Regions from separate parts of the Homo sapiens genome. Here regions 1, 2, 3, 5 and 6 are each linked to region 4. The links are contacts of gene promoters, found by promoter capture Hi-C in blood cells and fetal thymus (Javierre and others, 2016). All regions are on one chromosome and are shown on one strand. Each heading gives the region's core, a stretch centred on a gene start or on the middle of the fragment in contact. The rest is flanking DNA. Distances are from core to core; before and after follow the strand shown. Region 1 overlaps CSDE1 (cold shock domain containing E1). Region 2 has its middle 4.3 kb from the start of CSDE1. Region 3 has its middle 2.6 kb from the start of MAGI3. Region 4 holds the start of HIPK1 (homeodomain interacting protein kinase 1). Region 5 overlaps BCAS2 (BCAS2 pre-mRNA processing factor). Region 6 holds the start of SIKE1 (suppressor of IKBKE 1).

Region 1 (3,931 bases), core at 128-2,627, 790 kb after region 4:
CAACCGATCAGGTCGAGGAGCTGCAACAGCCTTGGGGCCCTCACTGTAATTAAGTCAAAAGATGAGAAGAAACCACACTTGGTGGGCAGACAGCAAGCACTTGCAAAGGAGTGTGTTTTCCACCTAACTGCCCAAATGACTCACTTTTTATGATGGGACTCTTGCCTCATATACCTAGCTAGAAAGACAGGACAGACAAGTTTGTTTATGTATTATTATCCCCAACTCAAGGTCCCAACTTAATAGGAATGGAAGGAATCATTTGCAGACCCTAGACTTGAATGCAATCAAGAGTGACCAGTTCCACAGATGCATAAAAAAACAAGGTAGCAGATGTGGTAGCTAACACCTGTAATCCCAGCGCTTTGAGAGGACAGGGCAGGAGGAACACTTGAGCCCAGAAGTTCGAGATCAGCCTGGGCAAAACAGTGGGACCATGTCTCTACAAAAAATAAAATTGGCTGCATGTGGTGGCGCATGCTTGTAGTCCCAGCTACTGGGGAAGCTGACGTGGGAGAATTGCTTAGGCCCAGGGGGTTGAGTCTGCAGTGAGTCGTGATAGCGCCTGGGTAACCGAATCAGACTGTGAGACTGTCTCTGGGGAAGCAAAGCGGCATTATGAATCAGCATGGCTAAACTATTAGAATTTTAAGTAGCATATAACCTAGAAATGACTTAATGGAAGAAGAAGAATTTGGCAAAAATTTTAAAAAACATGTACTAAACAATCTTTTTGTATTCAACTAGAAGTAGGAAGTATCAAGAAATAATAAGTGGCAGAAGACAAGGCACAGAAAAGTGATGTGACAAAACAGAGACTATAAAGTTGAGACACTCCAGGGTAGTTACTAATCAAACCACAACAACAAAACTCACCAGACTCGCCAAACATTACAGGCGCTGCACTTGCCAGTGCGCTGATTAAGAATCACTGAGAACTCCACCTCATCTCCTGCCTGTAGCTCAATGCCATCCTGAACTTCTTTCACATGGAAAAAGAGCTTCTTGCTATCTCCTACTTCATAGTTAATGAAGCCAAACTGAAAAAAAAAAGTAGGTAAAAAAGAGAGGGCATGCCACACCTCACTCTGAATGAAGCACAATGCCTGCCCCTATCTAAAAGGATGTATAAAACATGGTATTAATGTTGATACTCCAGTCCAGCTGCCTGTGGCAAAACCTGTCAGGGAAGAAATGTATCTCTGAAAGTGCCATTCACTATATCACAAACTTGAACCAAACAAATAAAACTTGCCTTGTTCCTTCGTATATTATGAACTAAGCTTTTTGAATTAAGCAAACTCATCAGGAAGCTGTTACTTCAACATATATATTGTTTGGATCCCCTCTAGAATTAAGCTGGGTTATAGTAGCAGCCATACAAAATGTTATTATTCTCTGTACTGATGAAAAACATTCTGAGGACTCAGATTTCCCTGAGATCTCAGGAGTAAGACTAAGTTTGTTTGCCCTAAGCTTATTTTTTAAGTACTTTTGAACGTGGTTTCTGTGTTTGTGTGATATGCAAAAGAAGCTCTAAGCAAAAGTGTACAAAACCATATAGTCCTTCTATTCTGGAAATCTCACCCCTAACTTATTTTCCCCATTGCATAATATTAGTTACTAATACCAATCTTACTTTCTCATTGCTAATATAGTCACTTTTTGTGTAGTTTTCTGTTTTTATTAAGCTACCTCAAATGACTGAAAAAAGGTGAAGTAGAAATAAAAAAACGAATGAATGTTGATGATTTCCCCTTGGCTGAAAATATTTGAAGGTTTTGGTTACCAACTCATAGAAGGATCAAATTCAGATACAGAGATGCTGGCACTTACCTGATCTTTCACACATTCCACTGTGGCCCTGCGCAGGGGTGTGATGTTGTAAGCCATAGTTTGTGCATTTTGGCCCAGGACACACAATTGGAACTTGACGCTCTCCCCTTTCTGCAGGCAATCCCCTTTGTTGGCCATCCCAACGATGCCAAATGGATAGACCTCACCTTTCATATCGCCTGTAAAACAGGTACAAAGTCTAAAAGCTAGTATTTCACAACAGTCCTCTGCTGATGACCCTAGGAAGTTTATATAACTGCTAAAAATGTGTTATGTTACTTAAAATATATTTACATTTTCAGTACTCAGAAGTTTCACCTTAAAGCTTAAATGAAATCCTAAATGTTAAATACTACCATGGAACCAAATGAGAATGTCACAGCTCCCATCAGTACTTTATTAGCTGATGAACAATTTTAAACTGCATTTATAAATTAAAACAAAAAATACTGTCATTTACAATCCCATTGCCTAAATTTTAAGCACTATGGGTTGCCAATATTCACAGGACTATCTTCTTCCCAAGTTCACAATATGAGCCAACCAAAAATACTTTTGTCCCATACTCAATGAGCCAGTAAACAACTAGGCGGGCACAGGCAAAAACAATTTAGATAAATTTGACACCCCACCTCCTTTTTTTTTGTTCGAATTCTGGCTCCCTCACATAGGTTCCTTTTTCCAGATCAGAGACCAAAAACCATTTTCCTAAAGGGCCGGAGAGTATTATTTTAGGTTTGCAAGTCATCCTGTCTAACCAACTCTGCTGTTGTAGTGAGAAAGCAACGAAAAACAATATGTAAACAAATGGTTGTGGCTGTGATCACAAGAAAAGGCCACCATATATGCTGAGCCCTGCCCTACAGTATGAAGTTGCCTGGAGCCCGGTGCAGGCTACAGATAAAAACTATGCCAAAGAATTCAGCTGCCTAACAATTTTCAGCATCCAGGCAAATGTACTCAGTCAACAATAGTGGAAAACATGAGAAAAACAGGTGGGAAGCAGAAGCTTCTAACCATCCTCTTGATGATTACAGGGTAAGTGAAGAATTTTTGTCATTGTTATTGTTGAGACAGGGTCTCGCTCTGCTACCCAGGCTGGAGTGCAGTGGCGATCAACGGCTCACTGCAGCCTTGATTTCCTGGGCTCGGGTGATCCTCCCACCTCAGCTCCTGAGTCGCTGGGACTACAGGCACACACCATGACTGGCTAATTTTTGCATTTTTTGTAGAGACAGGGTTTTGCCATGTTGCCCAGGCTGGTCTCAAACTCCTGGGCTCAAGTGATCTGCCCACCTTGGCCTCCCGAAGTGTTGGGTTTACAGGTGTGAGCCACCACACCTGACTTTTTTTTTTTTTTTTGAGACGGAGTCATGCTCTGTTAACCAGGCTGGAGTTCAGTGGCATGATTCAGCTCACTGCAACTTCCGCCTCCCAGGTTCAAGTGATTCTCCTGCCTCAGCCTCTGAAGTAGCTGGGATTATAGGCACCCACCATGATACCTGGCTAATTTTTGTATTTTTAGGAGAGACAGGGTTTCGCCATGTTGGCCAGGCTGGTCTCGAACTCCTGACCTTCAGGTGATCTGCCTGCCTTGGCTTCCCAAAGTGCTGGGATTACAGGTGTGAGCCCCTACTCTCGACCCCAGCTGACTTTTAATTTTAAATACAGGAACCAAAAAACTTTGAGGAGATAATCCAAAGAGATCAAGTCATGGGAAGAGTGATTAGAGGAAGCTGGTCTGACCTCATGCAATATCAATAATTACCATTTATGATGCACATACTGATTCATACTTTATAGAACCATCTAAGGCTGAAGGTATTACCATTTTAAAGATGAAGAAACTGAGCTAGCAAAGATTTAAGTTATTTGTCCAAGATTATATGCTAGAACGGTGTCCAGATCTAGGTCTGCCCAACTTCAAAGTCTTAGTATAAGTTACAGTTGTGTTCCTGAATAAAAGAGCTAGTTCTTACCAAGTGGGAAAATGTAATCTGTCTAGTCCCGGGCTTAGAGATGCCTAAACAAAACCCTTGCTTTGGACTATATCCCACCAGGCTTAGAGATGCCTAAATAAAACCCTTGCTTTGGA
Region 2 (3,921 bases), core at 315-2,814, 830 kb after region 4:
TCCTTGTTCCAAAATTAATATCAATTTACATTTAACACAAAATGCAGTCTGTATAAACCGAGAAATATACATTTTAGCTTCTAATGCATTAAAGAAAGTAACAGGTGGAACAATTTGATATAAATCACAAGTTAAAATGATTTACTGTTTCTACAAGTAAAACCCACAAACAGAAGTAGGTTTCATTATTAGATCACTACATAATGATTTTTTTCAGATGAATTTTGAAGTCAAATCAAAAACTGAAAAAATGTGGTTATCTTTTTATGTTTTTTTTTAAATTAAATCAGAAACTTGTTAAATCACTTTGGAAAACCATCTCCTATGCAACAGGGTGACATGGATTTTGGGAAGATAGTCTGTTAAGGAACCATCAGAAAAAAATTTGAGAAATTATTTTTAGTTATTCATCATATTTAGTTTTCTACTCTGAAAAACTTAGACAATGAAATTGATAATGATTGTGTGCTTTTTTTCCCTCTACAATCATCAATAAGTACATTATCTCTGAAGTCTACTTTAGAATCAAAAGTAAGCATTTCTTACAGTTTGTAAGGTTTTCTTGAGCAGCGGTGGGTGAGATTTTTGTCATTTCTCTGTCGAATGAGAAAAATTAGGTCAATATAGAGCTTTTTTAAAAAAATTAAATAAGGCTAAATTTATTCCAGATTTTAAGAGTTGTTTTTATTCTGACATGTCCTCCCTGTTTAGGGAAACTAAAGAGGATCTTCTTTTATAAAATTATGATAGGCTGGGCACGGTGGCTCACAACTGTAATCCCAGACTTTAGAAGCCAAGGTGGGAGGATCGCTTGAGCTCAGGAGTTCCGGACCAGACTGGGCAATGTAGCGAAACCCCGTCTTTACAAAAAAATTGAAAATTAGCCAGGCATGGTGATGCATGTGTGGTCCCAGCTACTCAGCAGGCTGAGATGGGAAGACTGCTTAAGCCTGGGAGGTCATGGCTGCAGTGAGCCATAATCGTGCTATTGCACTTCAGCCTGGGCAACAGAATGAGACAAGGTCTTAAAAAATATTTCATTAAATAAGATAAAATTATGATAATAGTGCATGGTAAAGAGGTCCACATCCAAGGTTTCAGAACAGAAATAATACTTCTAGAGCAAAAACATTCATAAAGAAGAATTATTTCCATAAGAATTAATGTAAATAATTAAGATTTGGTCCTATAGGCCTACAACCCAAAACTTTTTATTCTTTAACCAGCCTCTAAACAGTTAAAGGGCATTATATAAATAAGAATAACATAATACCACTAATGTAATAAAATATTAGAATTTAAATAAGAATGCAAAAGCTTTATATAATGCTTCCCTTTAAAATGTTAAAATTGCACTTAATAGGATAATTATGTGGACATGCTAAAATGCTGCACCAAAAGTAACCATCTAACATTGTAGCTCTGGGAGTCAGTTAATAGAGGGAAGGGTAGAGCAACAGAATATTTATAATTTAACTTAAACTGAATCCTGATGAAATCCAATTGTATTTAACATAAATCCAAACTCTTTTACTGTGCTCTTCAAGGCCCTGAATGATATAGTCCCCACCAAATTCTCTAACCCCTGGTTAACTGGTTCTTCCTATATTGTAAGTTTGTTCCTACTTCAAGGCCCATGAATTTACTGTTGTCTCTGCCTGGAATGTTCTAGCCCAAATCTTTGGGCACTTTCTCATCATTCAGATTTCAGGTCAAATGTTAACCACTTTACAAAGGCCTTTTCTAAAGTAAAAGTACCCACTAAACTATCAGTTTCCATTTGTTTATTGCTCATCCCTCTGAACTACAGCATAAGCTTCAATTCTCTAGTTCATCATTGTATCCCCAAAACCTGGCACAGTGACTTACGTATACAGTAAATACTTAAACAATATTCATTGAATGAGTAAATTTCACTTATTTTATTGAATCCAAGGCAGTAGTGATTGTATGGTAGGTCATCATTTATGGATTACTAATAAGAAAATATGTAGCCATTGCTATAAAGACACATGCACACATATGTTTATTGCAGCACTATTCACAATAGCAAAGACTTGGAACCAGTCCAGATGTCCATCAATGATAGACTGGATTAAGAAAATGTGGCACATATACACCATGGAATACTATGCAGCCATAAAAAAAGATGAGTTAATGTCCTTTGTAGGGACATGGATGAAGCTGGAAACCATCATTCTCAGCAAACTATCGCAAGGACAAAAAACCAAACACCGCATGTTCTCACTCATAGGTGGGAATTGAACAATGAGAACAGTTGGACACAGAAAGGGGAACATGACACACCAGGGCCTGTCGTGGGATGGGGGAGGGGGGGAAGGATAGCATTAGGAGATATACCTAGTGTAAATGACGAATTAATGGGTGCAGGACACCAACATGGGACATGTATACATATGTGACAAACCTGCGCGTTGTGCACATGTACCCTAGAACTTAAAGTATAATTTAAAAATAAATAAATAAATAAAATAACCCTAAAGCTCTAGAAGAAAATATGTAGCCATTTTCATTATTGATATGGTTTGGTTGTGTCCTCTCCTGAATCTCATCTTGAATTGTAGTTCGAATAATCCCCACATGTCATGGGAGGGATCCAATGGGAGGTAATTGAATCATGTGGGCAGTTACCCTCATGCTCCTTTTCTTGTGATAGTGAGTTCCCATAAGATCTGATGGTTTTATAAGGGGCTTTCCCCCCTTTGCTCAGCACTCATTCTCCTTCCTGCCACCAAGTGAAGAAGGATATGTTTGCTTCCCCTTCCACCATGATCATAAGTTCCCTGAGGCCTTCCCAGCCAAGCTGAACTGTGAGTCAGTTTAACTTCTTTCCTTTATAAATTACCCAGTCTTGGGTGTGTCCTTATAGCAGTATGAGAATGAATTAACACAACAAATTGGTACCAGGAGTTAGTGGGTCACTGCTATAAGGATACCCGAAAATGTGAAAGCGACTTTGGAACTGGTAACAGGTAGAGTCTGGAACAGTTTTGAGGGCTCAGAAGAAGAAAATGTGGGAAGGTTTGGAAATTCCTAGAGAATTGGGGACTCAGAAGACAGGAAGATGTGGGAAAGTTTGGAACTAAAATGCCGATAATAATATGGACAATGAAGTCCAGGCTGAAGTGGTCTCAGATGGAGATGAGGAACTTGTTGGGAACTGGAATAAAGGTGATTCTTGCTATGCTTTAGCAAAGAGATTGGCAGCATATTGCCCCTATCCTAGAGATCTGTGGAACTTTGAACTTAAGAGAGAGAATTTAGGGTATCTAATGGAAGAGGTTTCTAAGTGGCAAAGCATTGAAGAGGTGGCTTGGGTGCTCTTAAAAGCATTCAGTTTTATGCATTCACAAATATATGGTTTGGAATTGGAACTTGTATTTAAAAGGGAAGCAGAGCATAAAAGTTTAGAAAATTTGCAGCCTGATGATGCAGTAGAAAAGAAAAACCCATTTTCTGGGGAGAAATTCAAGCTGGCTGTAGAAACTTGCGTAAGTAATGAGGAGACAAATGCTAATCATCCAGACAATGGGGAAAATGTCTCCAGGGCATGTCAGAGACCTTCATGGCAGCCCCTTCCATCACAGGCCTGGAGGCCAAGGAAGGAAAAATAGTTTCCTGAGCCAGGCCCAAGACCCCCTGCTCTGTGCAGCCTTGGGATATGTGCAGCCTTGGGACACGGTGTCCTAAGTCCCAGCTACTTCAACTCCAGCTGTGGCTAAAAGGGGCCAAGGTACAGCTCAGGCCATTATTTCAGAGGGTGCAAGCCCCAAGCCTTGGCAGCTGACACATGGTGTTGGGCCTGTGAGTGTGCAGAAGTCAAGGATTGAGGTTTGGGGACCTCCGCCTTGATTTCAGAGGATGTACGGAAATGCCTTGATGTCCAGGCATTAGTTGGCT
Region 3 (4,428 bases), core at 1,105-3,604, 540 kb before region 4:
ACATAATGATGGTTTGATTTATTCTTACTAGAAATTCAGGTTTCCATGAAACTAGTGAGAATATAAATATAAACGAAATCTAACATTTGCCCCTCCATTGCTTTGGCACAGAGCCATGAACAACTCCAGGGCACTACTCACATAGACTCTGAATTGCACCACCATATGAGGCATCCCTGATTGTACAAAGAAGTAACTAAGTATGGGTCACTTCCAAAAATGGGAAATTTATACTTCCACTCTGAAGTTTTCTACTTAAAGGAGTGGGTTTTTTGAGATGGAGCCTCACTGCAATGCCCAGGCTGGAGTGCAATGGTGCAATCTTGGCTCACTGCAACCTCTGCTTCCCTGGTTCAAGCGATTCTCCCACCTCAGCCTCCTGAGTAGCTGGGATTACAGGTGCCTGCCACCATGCCGGGCTAATTTTTGTATTTTTAATAGAGACAGGGTTTCACCATGTTGGCCAGGCTGGTCTTGAACTCCTGACCTCAAGTGATCCGCCTGCCTTGGCCTCCAAAAGTGCTGGGATTACAGGCCTAAGCCTCCGTGCACGGTCAGGAGTGGGTTTACTTAACTGTCATTAGAAACATTAGGCACAATATTATGAAACAAAACAAACTTTCCACCTTGCTTAAAAAAAAATTATTAGAAGCAAATCAATGCAGTGTACACGTGGCAGACACTGTGAGTTGCTTACCCAAAAGCTAATCTCCCCTCCCTGTATTTACTAAGAGACCCCTCCCCGCCAAGTTTTGTCCCTATGTTGTGCAGCCAAGAGGCAGGGCCCCCTTCAGAGTACCAGAGGTGATACTGGATAAGTAATAAGATATTTCATTACCCTTGGCAAAGATTCATTTAGTAAAGGAAATTTGGGAAACTGTGGCCAAGAAGCTAGAGGAGAAGTCTTGCTGGAGGCCTTTCGGGGAAAGGCTTCCTTGATCTACAAAAAGGAAATGAGGAAAGGAAATATCCTTTTCCCTCCTTTCAGTCTTTAGCCATTATTGTGTGTGGATGTGATACTTGGAGCCTCTGCAGCCATCTTGGGACTGAACTTGTAAAGTTTCCATAGTGAAACATATTGATATGTTTTGGATATTTGTCCCCTCCAAATCTCATGTTGAAATGTGATCCCCAGTGTCAGAGGTGGGGCCTGGTGGGAGGTGTTTTGATCATGGGGACAGGACGGATCCCTCATGAATGGCTTAGTGCCGTCTTCTTGGCGATGAGTGAGTTCACACCTGACCTGGTTGTTTAAAAGTGTGTGGCACCTCCACCCTCTCTTGTTCCCACTTTCACCATGTGATGTGCCTGCCACTGCTGCACCTTTCACCATGACTGAATCCTACCTGAGGCCTCACCAGGAAGCCAAGCAGATACCAGCGCCATGCTTGTACAGCCTGCAGAACTGTGAGTCAACTAAACCTCTTTTCTTTATAAATTACCCAGCCTCAGGTATTTCTTTATAATGACACAAAAATGGCCTAACACACATAGCTATCTCTAGCTCTATAGATTAGATAGATTAGATAGGGATAGCCCAAAGAAACCTTGGAGATCACCAAATTCAATTGCCTCATTTATTTTTATTATTTTTGTTCCATGTTGTTTGGTTTATTAATATTCCCCAATGGAAATCACAACTATTAAACCAACCATTATTTTTGGAAAGTCGTGATAAACATGAATACAATACGATTATTTAATTAGGTGTCATTTTAGAGATAGAAGCTTAAAATATGACCCCTTTATGTAATAATTGCCAAAATAATATCCTACCAGAATTAATTCAATAGCATGGGTAGCTTATTTCTAGAATATTTTAAAAACTGAACCAAAGCTTACTAAGATGGGTGAATTTAATACAATGTTTTTAGCTTTGTCAAAGATAGTACAATTTAGCACAAACTAAAATAAAAATTTACTGTTTGCTCTATGCTGCATCCTATGTTATCAAATAGCTTGACTCAAATTACTTGACTCAAATAGCTTCATACAGTTCTCACAACAACTCAGGTAAACACTGTCATCAAACCCATTTTGTGGATGAGGAAATTGAGGATAGGCAAGGTTAAATAGCTTGCTCAAGATCACAGAGCTAGCAGTAGAAAAGCTGGGATTTGCAGTAAGTAGAAAAGCTGGGATTTGCAGTCTGATTTGCTCAAGCTCTGAACCACTGCAGTTTTCTGCCCAAGAATGAATACAACTTATTCATGGTTGAGGCATGTGGCAAACACTGTTGGATGCCTACTTAGCAACTATTTCCCCTTTTCTGCTCTCAGTCAGAACACTCATTTTGTTTAGGGGTGACTTGTGATCAATTTAATGAACTGTGGCCAATCCTATCTCTTTTTGCCAGTGACTGGTCTGATGTGGCATATGACCATTTTCTGGACAATAAGGAAGATTCTAAAGTCTGGGAAATATTTTTCTCCTTCATAAAAATGGGGGACAGCACTTCCTTTTCTTCCGTTCCTGCTCTGTGCAGTGACCTCTGTGGATGTGATGTCTGGAGCTATGGCAGCCACATTGCAATTAAGAGGTGACAAACCTGGAGACAAAAGCTCACATGCATGTGATGGCAGAGAGCAAACACAAAAAAGAGCTTGGGTCCTTGATGACATGATTGTACTGCTCAACTAACCCTGAAACTATCTGCACTTGAAATTTATATTGAAGATATAGTAAATGACCTCATGCTTTAAGCTACTGCCAAATATTCTGTTCCTTGAGGCCAAAGGCATTCTAACAGATGCAATCTAGACACAGAAAGATGTTTTCCCAGAGTTCCTGCAAAAACAGATGATGTGTAGGTTATGGAGATTTTATCCAGGAATCCATTAGTATAGGTAGTAGTTTAGAAAAAAAATACTCCAAGCTTTGTCTCAGATATGGTTAAATCTGAGCCATCCACATGGTGTCTGTGCTGAATATTTTCCCCTCAGATGCACTGTTTCCTTTTCTGAAACTGACTGATATGAACTATATCAAAAGCCTCCCTTGCCCTCTGGCGTCTGGTTGGACTTGGCCATTGACAAGCACCAGCAGGAGACTGGAGGAGGGTGGTGAGTTAGATATAAATCCCCCAGGTCCTTTGCTGGGTGTTTACTTAGGCTGACTGCATCCGTTGACTGAAGGTCACAGACTCCTGTCAGGTGGCCCTGTGTGTCTGGATTTTTCGGTAACTGTTCTTTCCCGATTGGACAGATCTAGGAGCTGTAGCCTCAGGGTTCCAGCTTCTCTTGTGGTTTCCCACACCCTGCCCACATCTTTGCAAAATGCCATTTGTTTCCTGCCAGGACCCTGACTGATACAATGGTGTCAACGAAATCACTGCAGCTATTGAAGCTTGGTCCAGTCTATCTGAGGTGTGGAGTTTTATAAGGGCTTTCACCTACTATTAAAGGGAGACAGGAGACTACACAAATAAATGTCATGCTGCAAAAGTGAAACAAAGATCATAGCTCAGAGAAAACACTTTCCACTTGAGGGCAAGAAATCAGAGAAAGCTACCTGGAAGAGCCGGCATTTGGGATGAGGACGGATAGGAGTTTTAAAAGAGATGAGATGAAGGGCATTCCAAAGACAGGGAAGAGTGTAAGTCAAGCCGGGGAAGAGAGAAAGCTCAAGTGAAATTTCTGAAAAATTAGAGCTGGAAGGGATCTACGATATCTTTTATTTAATGTTCGTTCTCCCTTCACCTCCTTTAACTGAGATTTGGCCAAGGTCAAACAGCAAGTAAGTAGCATGTCAGGACTCCAACCAGATCTGCTGGCTACCAGGTTAGTTCTTAATAATCCACCTTCTACCTCCACCCCACTCCCTCACCTCAGGCAGTCTGCTTACTTCTCAGTCTCTCCCACTAGACTGTAACCTCCTCAATAGCGGGGCTTCTGTTTTCTTCACCCTTGAATCCCAGTACCTAGCACAATATCTAACACAAAATCGTCATCGTCATCAGCAGCAGCAGCAGCAGCTACCAAACTTTAAGAGGCAACCACCCACTGTCAGGCACTATGCAGTTATTTTGTACATCTTCTGTAATCTTCACTTTTCACTGAGGACGCTGCGGCTCAGAGAGGTTGTCTAATTTGTCTTAGGTCATACAGCAGTGCCGGACTCTATTTTATAATATCTTTCATCAACCGGACTCCGAAGCCCTGCCTCAATGGGCGTTCAGTAACATCTGTTGAATGAACGAATGAACAAGCAATATCCACTCAATGCAAACTATCGGCTGTAACAGGCCACCCTAAAGGCCCCGGAACCTCGGCCGGCTCAGGACTCCGCACGTTGTCTTCCAATCTAAGCACACCGGCCCCTCTCTGCGCCCCGCACAGGCTCAGAGGCTCCGCCCGCGTCTCCGCCTAACTCGCCGGCCACGCCCCCACTTCGGGGAGCTCGGTCCCTCTCGGATTCGAGTTTTCCTCG
Region 4 (4,003 bases), core at 1,040-3,539:
TTGTAGTAGAGATGGGGTTTCACTGTGTTGGCCAGGCTGGTCTTGAACTCCTGACCTCCAGTGATCTGCCACCTTGGCTTCCCAAAGTGCTGGGATTACAGGCATGAGCCACTGTGCCTGGCTACCTGTGCGAATAAACTTCTAACAGCTCTACATTGCCTTTCAAAATCTGACTCAATTTACCTTACTACTTCCAAATCGTGCAACTTCTCTGCTTAACTGTAAGCTCCTTCAGGGCACAGACCATGCCTTTTCTTCTGTGTATCCTTAATTTCTTTTTTTTTTATTTCTTTCTTTCTTTCTTTTTTTTTTTTTTGAGACAGAGTCTCACTGTCGCCCAGGCTGGAGTGCAATGGTGCAATCTCGGCTCATGGTAGCCTTCTTCTCCTGGGTTCCAGCGGTTCTTCTGCTTAAGCCTCCAGGGTAGCTGGGATTACAGGCATGCGCCACTACACTTGGCTAATGTTTGTATTTTTAGTAGAGACGGGGTTTCACCATGTTGGCCAGGCTGGTCTCGAACTCCTGACCTCAGGTGATTCACCTGCCTCAGCCTCCCGAAGTGCTGGGATTACAGGCATGAGCCACCACACCCAGCCCCTTAATTTCTTATATAGTGCCTAGCACACAGAAGATGCTCTATAAATAGTTACTGAATGGACAAATGACTAAACTTTGAAACTTCTTTGACCTTACTATGCTCAAATATCACTTCTGATGTTCTTCTCCGACTCTCTCACTTATCTTATATATGTCTGCACACGTTTTTTCCTCATTAGACTGTAAGGTCCCTGAGGGAAAAGACCATGCTTTATTCACCTGTCTCATTCATACCTGACCCAGTGTCTAGAAGAGTGTATAGCACAGAGCAGGCACACAAGCAGTTTGCTGGATGAATGAGTGAATGATACTAAAGAGGAGAAAATACAGACTTTAAGAAGCTCTCCGTATAGTGAGAAAGACTGAGGACCTAAGAGCAATGAAAATAGAAGTTAACAAGTATAAATAAAGAAGGTACAGGTTAATTTAAGTAATCAGATGATGATGCAGAATTCAAATAAAATAGGAGTCAATCAGCAAAGGTTCCCGAAAGGGTGAATTCTGAGAGATATTTGAAAAGAGGAAAGGGACATAACTTGAGAGAGCAGGAGTTTAGGAACATGTCAGAGAGTTAGGTTGAACCAAGGCATGATAAACATGTTTGAAGCTTACATTCTGAGCAGGATCTGTTCTACCCAGACCACAGGTTTCTGCCTTTTTTTCTGGCTCATCAAGCAGGCATGTTTACCCACTCTTTTTATCTTCATGTTTCCCAGGTCAGCCCAATGTGAGGACTTTAAGTAGTAGAAGGAAGTTTCTGTGAAAATATGCAAACAAAACTGCCTTGTGGGATCGAACATTTTTGGTAACCCTAGTTCTCTAGGGAAATAAACTTCCCTGTTCCAGATAAAATGGAACTGCTCCCCGTGTTGTTAAGCCAGAGAGAAAGCCAAATGACTTCCCTTAAAAGGTACTTCAGCGCATTTTACACAAATCATAGTTTTCTGTGTGTGTTATGGGGATCCAAGGAAATCAAAGATGTTAATGAGTGAGATTTGAGAAACAAAACTTGATAGTAGAATTTTGTCTTAGCCACAACTGCCCTTCTCCTCACAGAGTATATGCAAATACCGATGGTGACGGACAGTCACTTTCTAGAGCTCAGATCACTGCTGCCTCCAGCACTTGTGGGATGGAAAAAATGAAGAAATTACAGTTGCCCTAAAAATGTCCCCCACTTCAGGAACCTGAATATTTTACACAGCAGGAGATACATCGGAAGTCCTACAGAATCTCTTGACTTTGGGAGATGCAACTGCTTTTCTATTAGGATAACCTAATTTTCTGTGTCCATTTTCTCAGAATGTTGTGCCCAACGCGTTCTGTTTCCTAAATACCCAGCCTTCCTTCTGGTAGAGGCAAGAAAATTATGCTAGCATTCGCTCACTGCATGTTTTGAGCGTTTGAGTTCAGAGTACAGCTATTCTCTCTCCTCGTAATGTAAACACAGGTTCCCACGGCGGCAATGGGAGACTCCCCTAAGGGGCTCTTGACGTACAGGGAGACTTCCAGATATGGTACACAGATGTCACATTGCTAGAACGTCTCTAGACGGCAACGAAACATTAAAGCCTAACCTGAGGTAATCCCTCACCGGCAGTGAAGCTCCTCTGCTAGGCACTGTCGTCCCGTACACTGCCCAAGCTCTGGGGGTGTCACACTAAACTGTGGTGATGTCACACTAGCTGGGATGACATTTTACAGTTGGATCCCGTACCACCGCCAGGCACCTTTAAATCACCGCAGAGTCTGCAGTGCGGAGGGGGCGGGAAGTCCAGGCCCCGCACTCGATCCACGCTGGCTCCCTACGGAGGCCCACCTACTCGAGGCCCACCGACTCCTACTGCAATCAGTACTATGCGATCGTCCTAGAGAGTCCATTCAGCTGCACTTCCGCCTCAGTAGGTGTCATGGCGCGGGGCGGGTGAATAGTTCCGGCGAGGCGGGGCCGGCCGGGTTGAGGGACGGCCGCTCGGCATTCCGTTCGTCGGGTCTGGCGACAACGGCGGCTGCGGAGCAAGGGGCCCGGCGGTAGCCCCGGACGGCAGCAGGAGGCCGAGGCGGGAGCGCGCGGGGCTGAGGCGGCGGCGGCGGCGGCGGGAAGGGGCTGGGTGGTGGAGCGGGAGGGAGGCTGAGGAGGCTCCCCCTGCGGGACGGGCGCGGGGACGGCTCCGGGGGGCGGGGGCCGGGGCCCGGGCCGGCTCGCGCGGGGGGTATGATGACCCGGCTGCGGGGCCCCAGATCTCGTCTCCTCCGCCGCCTCCTCACGGCAGCCCCAGCTCGCGGCTGAGAACCAGACACACCGGCGGTGAGTGGGGACGGGCAGGAGGGGTCCTCGGCGGGGAGCGACTTCCCCTCAGCTCCCTGAGGCGGGGCCGGGCCGGCCGCCGGCTCTCCTGGAGCGCCCAGCCTGCCGGGGGCGCCTTCCTCAAAGGGCCCCTGCCTGGGACCGGGCGCCGCGTCTTGCGGCCCGGCCGCTCACTGCCGCTGAGGGGATTGCCTTCCCAGGAAGGTGGGGAGGCTCCGGGCTGGTTTTCGGGGCAACTCCCCCTGCCTCCTGCCACTTCTCGCCTGGGCGTGTTGTCCTTAAGTGACAGGGGACCGCCTTGCGTCTCCTCACTCGGCCGGTTTTTTCCCCGGCTGTCGTGGCAGGTTCCCAGTGTGTGGCTTGTGCGTGTGTACTTCACAGCTCCGCTTATCACCATGGTTTTGGGTTATTTGTGCTGTTTGGGACCAGGAAGCCGTGCCTGGAGAGGACGACAGTGGGGTGGGTGTGGAAGCTTTTCTGTCGTCTCCGCTGATGTTCTGTAGTCGTTAGGCTTGTAATTCGTAATGACGGTGGAGACTACGTGAGACCAGCCCACCTAATGTATATCTGTACAAGGGAGATCTAGAGGTCTGGCCCAAAGGGAAACTTTTGCTGCCACCACTTTCAAAGCTTTCGTTAAAAAAACAAAAGGGAGGGGGAAGGTGGAGAAACAACCAAAATTCTGGTAAGGCCCACACTGTTCACAGGTCTGTGGGGAAGAGTCCCCTTTTTGTGCTTAGCAACCAAGACGTGGAGTTCCGTCTCCAGGAGCGTTGGTCTAACCTCCAGTTTGTTGTGGTGACGAGCTGTGAGCAATGGCCTGTGTTTATGCTGGGCGAGCTTTCTTTCCTACTTGGGGAGGGGGGTTCAGGATGGGAGGATGCGGGTAGGGAAGAGGGGGGGAAAACCCCCAAGCTCCAGTAAGTCTTTTCTTTACTTAATCACTGATTCTGTTGTAGGTAGACTCATTTAGAGGCAGTCCTAGATGCTCTTTCTTGTCTATTAGTGACACTTTGGGAATTCTCAGTAATTGCATCAACATAATACTTTCAGCTATAGACTCTCTGTCCCAATCTGTCCTTTATCTTGTTTCTTAGT
Region 5 (4,266 bases), core at 1,718-4,217, 640 kb after region 4:
GGGCTGTTTCTCAGTGTAAAATGATGGTACAACGATAGCAGCCATCTTTGTGATGACAGCTCTCATGAGCCACAGTGTTCCAATCTGAACCCGTTGCCTTCTACGGAGTGTACATATATAATCCTGACAGACAGCCCTTCACCAAGCTCTTTGGAAGAGTCCCGTCACTGCTTCCCTGTGTTTGGCTGGAAGAGCACACATCCTTCAGCAGCCCCTTGAGAAATGATATTCAGGAAGTAAATGCTTTTGAGATCTCATATATCTCCAAGTGTCTTTATTCTACCATAACCCTTGGCTTATAATTTGGCTATGTAAAGAGTTCTAGGTTGGAAATAATTTTTTGTAAGAATTCCAAAGGCACTTCTACATTATCTTCTTTCTAGCTTCCAAAGATGTTGTTGAGAAGCGTGAAGACATTTTGATTCTTGATCCTTTATATGTAACAATCCGCCCCTCCGTCCCCCCTACACGCCTGCAGAATCTTCGTGTGCTTGGGTGTTCTCATATCTCACAAGTAACATGCTCCGGAGTTGGTCTATTTTCATCCATTGTGCAGTGACCTTTTGACTCTGGAAATTCTATCAATCAATCAGTTCTGGAAAATTCTGAATTATTTTGATGACTTCTTCCCTCCTGTTTTCTCAGGTTATTCGGCTACTGACTTTCCAGACCAGTCCTCCTATTTTCTCTTCTCTGTTTTCCATGTTTGTCTTTGTTGCCTCCACTTTCTTTGAGTGTGTCAACTTTAATTCCTAACTTTCCCATTGAATTTTAATTCCTGCTACCATATTTTTTAATTTCGACAAGCTGTTTTGTTCTGTTTCTTAATAACATCTTATATATTATTATGGCTGCAGTATCTCCTCTGAGGATTTTTTTTTTGAGACACGGTCCGGCTCTGTCACTCAGGCTGGAGTGCAGTGTCACAATCATAGTTCATTAAAGGCTTGAATTCCTGGACTCAAGCAATCCTCCTCCCTCAGCCCCCCAAGTAGCTGAGACTATAGGCGCACAACACCATGTCTGGCTAATTCTTTTATTTTTTGTAAAGATGGGGGTCTCACTACGTTGCCCAGGCTAGTCTCAAATTTCTGGGCTCAAGTTATCCTCCCACCTTGGCCTCCCAAAGTGCTGGGATTTAGACATGAGCCATCACACCCAACCTGAGGATATATTTCTTAAAAACAATTTTTTTCTTCTTGCATCATCTATTTCTCCATAGTCTTTCCCAGATTTGTTTTACTCCTTATCTTTCACAATGTAGAACTGCCTTATCTGGTGATCCTCAACTGTCTATTCATGTTTAAAAGTCGGGAGCTAAAGCACGGTTTAGAAGCTGTGTTGGTTGCGGGGTGGTTTGTTGAGCCTCTCTGCTCTGTGTCCTGGCTTGGTCATTTGTTGGGAAACTCTCAATTTCAACAACTGTAGTAGGTCTTTTCTCTTAGGCTGGTCAGATACTCCACAACTCTTCCAATTTCCTTCTGAGAGAAGTTCGAGGGTGGGCAATGAAGAGATGGATGACAACACTCCATATGCGTTCATTCCTACAATCCCTATCTTCAACACAGAAATGTGGCTCTCGCTAGGCGTGGTGGCTTACACCTGTAATCTCAGCACTTTGGGAGGCTGACTTGGGCAGATCACCTGAGGTAGGGAGTTTGAGACCAGCCTGACCAACATGGAGCAATCCCGTCTCTACTAAAAATACAAAATCAGCCGGGCGAAGTGGCACATGCCTGTAATCCCAGCTACTTAGGAGGCTGAGGCAGGAGAATTGTTTGAACCCAGGAGGTGGAGGTTGCGGTGAGCCAAGATCAGACCATTGAACTCCAGCCTGGGCAACAAGTGCAAAACAAAACAAAACAAACAAACAAAAAGAAATGGGGCTCTCAATTGTATTAAGGTACTTTCGAAAGTACTAACCATTTATCAATATCACAGATCAAAAAGTTCTAGGTTTATTTTGTATTATAATGAACATCCTTTTATTTTTTCAAAATTGAAAAATAATTTTTAGATTTTTCAAATTTATATTTATCAGTTATTGAGATGAACACCTCTCAGTAATTTTTTTTTTTTGAGACAGAGTCTAACTCTGTCGCCAGGCTGGAGTGCAGTGGTGCAATCTCGGCTCACTGCAACCTCTGCCTCCTGGGTGTAAGCGATTCTCCTGCCTCAGCCTCCCGAGTAGCTGGGACTACAGGCGCATGCCACCATGCCCAGCTAATTTTTGTATTTTCAGTAGAGATGACGTTTCACCATGTTGGCCAGGATGGTCTCGATCTCTCGACCTCGTGATCTGCCCACCTCAGCTTCCCAAAGTGCTGGGATTACAGGTGTGAGCCACTGACCTTGCAATAATTTTCAGTCAGTCTTTATACATTAAGACTACCTTGCTTCGTTTGAGACAGGGTCTTGCTCTGTCACCCAGGCTGGCGTGCAGTGTCACAATCATAGCTTATGGTGGCCTTGAACTCCTGGACACAAGTGATCCTCCTGCCTCAGCCTCTCAAAGCACTGGGATTACAGACGTGAGCCACCACACCTAGCAACACTACCTTTTGATATGTTGCAAATATTTTTTCTGAATTGGGCAGGAATCTTTTACACAATTTAATTCCTTACAAGTAGAGAAGTAAGAACATTAACTCTGGAGCTGGACTATTGGGTTCAAAACCTGACTGACAACTTTCTATAAAAAAGCTGACACTTTCAGCTATAAAACTCTGGCAAGTTATGTTATTTAACTGGTGTCTGTTACATGTCCACATATGAGAAAAACAGTAACCGCCTCCTGAGGTTTTTGTGAGGACCAAATAATTTTTATTCACATACATCTAGTTCATCTACCTAAAGTGTTCAGAACAATGTTCAGCACATATTAAGCTTGATATAACTGTTACCTATGATGATGACGATGATGATGATAATGATAACTGTACAGTCACTGTCTTTCTGAAGTTGTTTGGTGATCAAGAATGTGTTTAGAACTATCTCTTTATTAGACAAAGTCATAAACCAAAAATTTCCAACTTCCTGTACATGTTGAAAGCTTTAAATAAGGATCCTTGGATACAAAATATGGTCCACATGGCTGAAAATTAATTCTATGACACAATATTATTCTAAAGTCATCCTTATTTTGAAAGCCTAAAGATTTTCTTTTATGGCTATAAAAATACCACCAAGCTAGACATTTTAATTCTGTTGAGATATACAAATAGAATTACCACAGCAGCCTACACCTTCTATGATTTCTAAACACTTAAACATCAATGGTTTTGGGAAGATGCTGTTGTCCTTCAAAGTTCATTAAAAGTTCAGATGCCTTTTGTGAAAGCCCAACTTTTCTTCTACCTGCTAAATTGTCTTTTCAGAAGTCTTGCCGGATGTTTTCTTTGTTTGCCTCTCCATGTTGCTGCTTAATTTGATAGATTTCATTTTCTAGCTGAACAATAGTCCGTTCAATCTCATAATTCTTACTGACCAGGGATACCCAACTAGAATGGGGGGGAAGAAAAGAAAAAAATTACTCAATGTAAAACTTCTCTTAGAAGATTTTATTTTAAATGTATACACATGTTCACCCAGAGCTATAACACTAACCTTCACTTTTTTTTTTTTTTTGAGACGGAGTCTCGCTCTTGTTGCCCAGGCTGGAGAACAATGGCGCAACCTCAGCTCACTGCAACCTCCGCCTCCCGGGTTCAAGGGATTCTCCTGACTCAGCCTCCCGAGTAGCTGGATTACAGGCACACGCCACCACAGCTGGCTACTTTTTTGTATTTTTAGTAGAGATGGGGTTTCACCACGTTGGCCAGGCTGGTCTCAAACTCCTGACCCCAGGTGATCCACCCACCTCGGTCTCCTAATGTGCTGGGATTACAGGCATGAGCTACCATGCCTGGCCTAACCTTCACTTTCAACTTTCCATTAAAAAAAAATCAAGGCACAATTGTGGAAAAGTAGGTAAAGGGTACATGGAATCTCTCTGTATTCTTTTTTTTTTTTTTTTTTTTTTTTCCAGAGACAGGGTCTTGCTCTGTTGCCTAGGCTGAAATGCAGTGGTGTGATCACAGCTCACTAGCCTGGAACTCCTGAGCTCAAGCAATCCTCCAACCTCAGCCTCCTGAAGAGCTTAGACTACAGGTGCATGCCATCATGCCTGGCTCATTTAAAAGCATTTTTTTGTAGAGACAGGGTCTCGTTATGTTGCCCAGGCTGGCTTGAACTCCTGGCTTCAAGCAATCCTCCTACCTTGGCCTA
Region 6 (4,170 bases), core at 383-2,882, 850 kb after region 4:
ATCTCACAAAGCAAAAAAACAAGCACACAATCTAAAACAATCTCAAGATTTCAATTTGGTTCATTTCGAATTTATTCAAAGTTTCTTACTGCAGAGTGAGACTGGTGAGCTTTCAGGACTGGTTCAGCATCCACCGCTTTTTTAGCAACCATTAACTGTAACATCTGTTTCCGATATTTGCTCATGATAAGTTCCAAAGCATCCTGGTGTTCCTCCAAGGAAATCCATAGCTCTGTCAAAAAATAAAAGAACTTGGCAGTGATGTCTGAGAGACAGTTCCCAAATCCAAAGTCTTAACAGTTGGAATTTTGTAACACTATATAGATAATATGAATCTAAAGTTGTAAATCAATGTTTAAGTCCGCAAAACTGAACAGTTAAAGTCTATGTGAAAGGTAACTTTCTAGGCAGAGAAGCAAAGTCTTGCAGAAACAACAATGGATGTATCATCAGAAGACATGTGTTTGAGTTCAGTTCTGTAACTTGCTTGGTTAATACTCATAAGTAAATCATTTAGCTTCTTCTGAGCCTATTTCTTAACTGCATTGTGGTAGATAAAAATGAAGATATGAGAATACAGTAGAATGATATATGTGAAACCCCTCTGGTAAACAACTATTAATACCACAATCATTAATAATGTACTAATCAAGCCTAAGAATATATACCCTTAGAATAAAATTCTGCTGCTTCACCTTGCACAAACAAGAACATAAACAAAACCTTAAATCTTACCTTCAGTGTTTATATTAATACTTAAACATTAAATTTTAAGTCCATGAGGCTATGAACTCTTTTGTTACACATCTGAGGATGCTTAAAAATAAACCATGCAATAATACCAACTCTACACAGCACCTCTTTGGTAAGCTGCTGCAATATTAGTCAGATGACCTTGAAAAGGGTAATCTAACAAACTTTATTGTTACTGGGCCAGATCAGGAGGACTCTCCTACTAAAAGTACTGACCTGGAAATATATGTACACTTTTGTAAATGTTTAGGGCAATTTTGCAATAACTTTAAACTATTACCAGATATGAAAAGGCCTGACTAACCTCTGTTTTCCTGTTGCAAGTCTCTAATCTGTGTGTTCTCTTGGGACAGCAGAATGTGAGGTTTGTATTTGGACATGTCCTTCATATCGGATGCATCCTCTTGATACTGGACAAATAGAGACAGACTAAGCATGCCTTAAAGAGAACAGCGGCAGATGCAACTGAAGAGGCAGAAGTTAGGGCTCCAGGGCAGGATTCTCAGCCCCGACCCAGGAAAATGGTCTCACCGCCGCCCTCTGAGACCGGGAATAAATTCCAGGCCGAGTTCCCACTTTACCTCGCTCTCCACCCTTCAGTGCCCAGAATCCGAGAGCACTGGACTCCTACCCTCTGCCTGACCTGGTCCGGAAGCGCTGTCCCCGCCTCCCGCATAGCTGCTACCCGCCGGTGCAGCGCCGCCGACTGATCCACCAGCGACTCGGCGGCCGCATCGTGCTCCCGTAGCCTCTCCAGCAGCGTCTTGGCGTCTGTCAGGATCTTCTCGATGGTGCAGCTCATAGCAGCAGCACCACCCCAGCCCCTGCCGGGCTCAGCTACGCGACTCGCTCAGATCTTCTGGGAGTCTGTCTCAGCATTACAGGCGTCATTTCCGGGCACGTTTACAAGGTGTCTTGGTAGGCGCAATGGGCGCCTGCGCAGTGGCAGCCTATTTTGCGGGTTGACCCGCTTTAACCTGCGGCTTCCTTGCAGTCCTTCCTTGCGCGGAGCCCCAGACCTACACTTGCCACGCCGTTGGTTTCCAGTTACCACAGCCTGGTGGTCAGGCTATGATTAGCTGGGCAGTGGGAAGGTCTCCTTTCCCTACTGGTTTTCATTGATGTGGGTTGTTCTTCAGTCACAGTTAGTTTCTTTTTATTTTCATTATTTTTTTCTTTTTTGAGACGGAATCTTGCTCTTGTCCAGGCTGGAGTGCAGTGGCGCGATCTTGGCTCATTGCAACCTCTGCCTCCAGGGTTCAAGCGATTCTCCTGCCTCAGCCTCTCGAGTAGCTGGGATTACAGGCATGCGCCACCACGCCGGCTGATTTTTCTATTTTTAGTAGAAACGGGGTTTCACATGTTGGCCAGGCCGGTTTCGAACTCCTGACCTCAAGTGATCCGCCCGCCTCGGCCTCCCAAAGTGCTGGGATTACAGGTGTGAGCCCCCGCGCCTGGCCTACTTTCATTTAATTTTTTTTAAATTGTGGCAAAATACACATAAAATTTAATATCTCAGCCATTTATAAGTGTACAGTTCAGTTGTACATTCATATTGTTATACAGCCACCATCAGCATCCATCTCTAGAACTCTTTCATCTTGCAGTACTGAAGTTCTGTACTCATTAAACAATAATTCCTCATTCTTCCTTATCCCCAGCTCCTGGCAGCCACCATTCTACTTTGTGTCTCTACAAATCTGACTATTCTGGGTACCTGACATGAGTGAAATCATACAGCATTTGTATTTATATAACTGCCTTATTTCACTTAGTGTAATGTCCACGAGTTTCATCCATATAGTAGCATATGTTAGAATTTCCTTCCTTTTTAAGGCTGAATAATATATATATACCACGTTTTGTTTATCCATTCATCCGTGGATGGACAGTTGGGTTGCTTCCACCTTTTGCTATTGTCAATAATGCTGCTATTGCAACTGGCTCACGTCTGGCTGCTTGCTGCCTAGAGGCCAAAAACATGAGAAGTGACCTGTGGTGAAAGCTTTACTAATCAAATGCTCGCAGATGGGGAATGGCTAGGCTCATGCCTTCAAAACAGCATTCCACTTTTTTTTTTTTTTTGGTCAAGGTATCCCAGAGACAGTATCAGTGTCCAAACTTTAATTTTGTCCCATATCAATGCCAGGGTGGTGTGCTACCTGCCCTGAGTCCATCATGTCCCTCCTGCGGCCAACTGACTTAGAGTCAAAAGAGTTACAGCCAATTAAACGTTCTAGGTCAGATGGGAAGGAGGTGGGCAGGCACTCATTAACCTTAAAACCCCTCTTAAGCAATGTTAAGAGGCAAAAACCAAAAGGCAAGGGTTACAAAATTGACTTATCTATAAATTCTATGCATTGAGCTGCTGTAATCTTGGCTTGTTGCAATTAGCTATACAAAATGCAAGCATTTTGTTTAGCTGTTTTGGCATCTGTGTCATCCTTGATTTGTAGGGTCTGAACTAATTTTAGCTCTCAATACTGGCCCTTACAACATTACGTTATAGTCTCTAGGCATGGCGGGATTGAAGAGTTTCAACTTTTGTAGGTAAAACAAAACAGAAAGAATTAACAACATTTCAAACACAAAGGTCATAAACCCTGCCTAGTTTTGAGAATAACAGGAAAAGAAGTTCATAGGTAGCTAAACACTTAAATTATTTAGTATCAAGGCACAGAATAAATTATATTAATTCAGATAGAGGCAGAATTGTTAAATGAATCTTAATATTTTTGAACACAAGACTGTCCCTGTGTCTCATGAAAGCAGTTTACTTTGTCGCCTTTGCCTGAGTCTAACGATGAGGCTTTGGTTAATTGCAGTTTAGTGTCAGATACTGGCAGGAGTTGATGCCTTCTTTGGATGAGATATGTGTAAGTCCCTATAACTTAAAAGCACAAGGATTAGTTAATATCACCTGATAAGGACCTTTTCAAGGAGCTGGAGGTGTGATACCGGAGTCTATGACCTGACTGGAAGCTGTAAAAATATTTTACAACCTTGCAGTGATTAATTTTTATAGCTTCGATAAACCCCAGCAATAAGTCAGAGACTTAATTTACGATTTTGATTTTGAGGACATTGGTCAAAGATTTTAAAAGCCTCAAAACATTTGATCAAAACAAGATAATATTCATTGTAAAAATAATAGTTACTCATTTAACCAAACTGATAATTAAAGACTTTAAAGGCAATTGAGAAGGTTACCAGGACATAAAAACCTGAACCCTTTTAAATCTCAGTTTTTCTAGGCAATTAAAAACCCATTAAAGAGAGCATGGGAATTATTTGATAAAACATTAAAATCTTGTTTCTTAAGCAAGTTACTACACAGGCAAAAAACCCCTTCTGCTGTGTGACTGCTTCTCCTTATGGGAAGACCATGTAGGTAACCTGAAAGTCATACTTGAAAAA

Evidence for each region. The method cuts DNA at HindIII sites, captures the fragments that hold promoters and counts their contacts. A CHiCAGO score of 5 or more calls a contact.
Region 1: a fragment that was not itself captured here is called in contact with the fragment with the promoter of HIPK1 in region 4 in 1 of 17 cell types (total CD8 T cells); the score reaches 5.1 in total CD8 T cells.
Region 2: a fragment that was not itself captured here is called in contact with the fragment with the promoter of HIPK1 in region 4 in 3 of 17 cell types (total CD8 T cells, neutrophils and total B cells); the score reaches 5.4 in total CD8 T cells.
Region 3: a contact is called between a fragment that was not itself captured here and the fragment with the promoter of HIPK1 in region 4, in 3 of 17 cell types (fetal thymus, naive CD4 T cells and non-activated CD4 T cells). The highest score is 8.3, in fetal thymus.
Region 5: a contact is called between a fragment that was not itself captured here and the fragment with the promoter of HIPK1 in region 4, in 1 of 17 cell types (naive CD8 T cells). The highest score is 5.5, in naive CD8 T cells.
Region 6: a contact is called between the fragment with the promoter of SIKE1 here and the fragment with the promoter of HIPK1 in region 4, in 8 of 17 cell types (naive CD4 T cells, total B cells, naive CD8 T cells and 5 more). The highest score is 8.8, in naive CD4 T cells.

What each region holds. Positions count from the first base shown.
Region 1 is chr1:114,718,703-114,722,633 of GRCh38, forward strand. It overlaps CSDE1 (cold shock domain containing E1), which reads right to left. Exons shown (of 20, transcript NM_001007553.3): 17 at 1,837-2,015; 18 at 877-1,040; 19 at 1-43. Among named protein-coding and RNA genes, the nearest start is that of NRAS, 3.9 kb to the left of the region's middle. The HindIII fragment of the contact is 193 bases long and covers 1,282-1,474 here.
Region 2 is chr1:114,760,280-114,764,200 of GRCh38, forward strand. No RefSeq gene overlaps it. Among named protein-coding and RNA genes, the nearest start is that of CSDE1, 4.3 kb to the left of the region's middle. The HindIII fragment of the contact is 499 bases long and covers 1,316-1,814 here.
Region 3 is chr1:113,385,700-113,390,127 of GRCh38, forward strand. No RefSeq gene overlaps it. Among named protein-coding and RNA genes, the nearest start is that of MAGI3, 2.6 kb to the right of the region's middle. RefSeq lists silencers at 3,148-3,392, 4,382-4,428. The HindIII fragment of the contact is 1,038 bases long and covers 1,836-2,873 here.
Region 4 is chr1:113,927,035-113,931,037 of GRCh38, forward strand. It overlaps HIPK1 (homeodomain interacting protein kinase 1), which reads left to right and starts at 2,290. Exons shown (of 16, transcript NM_198268.3): 1 at 2,290-2,498. HIPK1-AS1 (HIPK1 antisense RNA 1) reads right to left here and starts at 2,491. Exons shown (of 3, transcript NR_110726.1): 1 at 2,328-2,491; 2 at 1,210-1,354. RefSeq lists an enhancer at 2,201-2,520 and silencers at 2,641-2,690, 2,711-3,020. The HindIII fragment of the contact is 2,173 bases long and covers 1,203-3,375 here.
Region 5 is chr1:114,564,757-114,569,022 of GRCh38, forward strand. BCAS2 (BCAS2 pre-mRNA processing factor) reads right to left here. Exons shown (of 7, transcript NM_005872.3): 7 at 2,801-3,500. The coding sequence ends at 3,374. Among named protein-coding and RNA genes, the nearest start is that of BCAS2, 15 kb to the right of the region's middle. The HindIII fragment of the contact is 166 bases long and covers 2,885-3,050 here.
Region 6 is chr1:114,779,053-114,783,222 of GRCh38, forward strand. It overlaps SIKE1 (suppressor of IKBKE 1), which reads right to left and starts at 1,633. Exons shown (of 5, transcript NM_025073.3): 1 at 1,397-1,633; 2 at 1,058-1,163; 3 at 90-232. The coding sequence starts at 1,555. RefSeq lists enhancers at 819-1,385, 1,386-1,951, 1,416-1,655, 1,896-2,015. The HindIII fragment of the contact is 3,666 bases long and covers 1-2,756 here.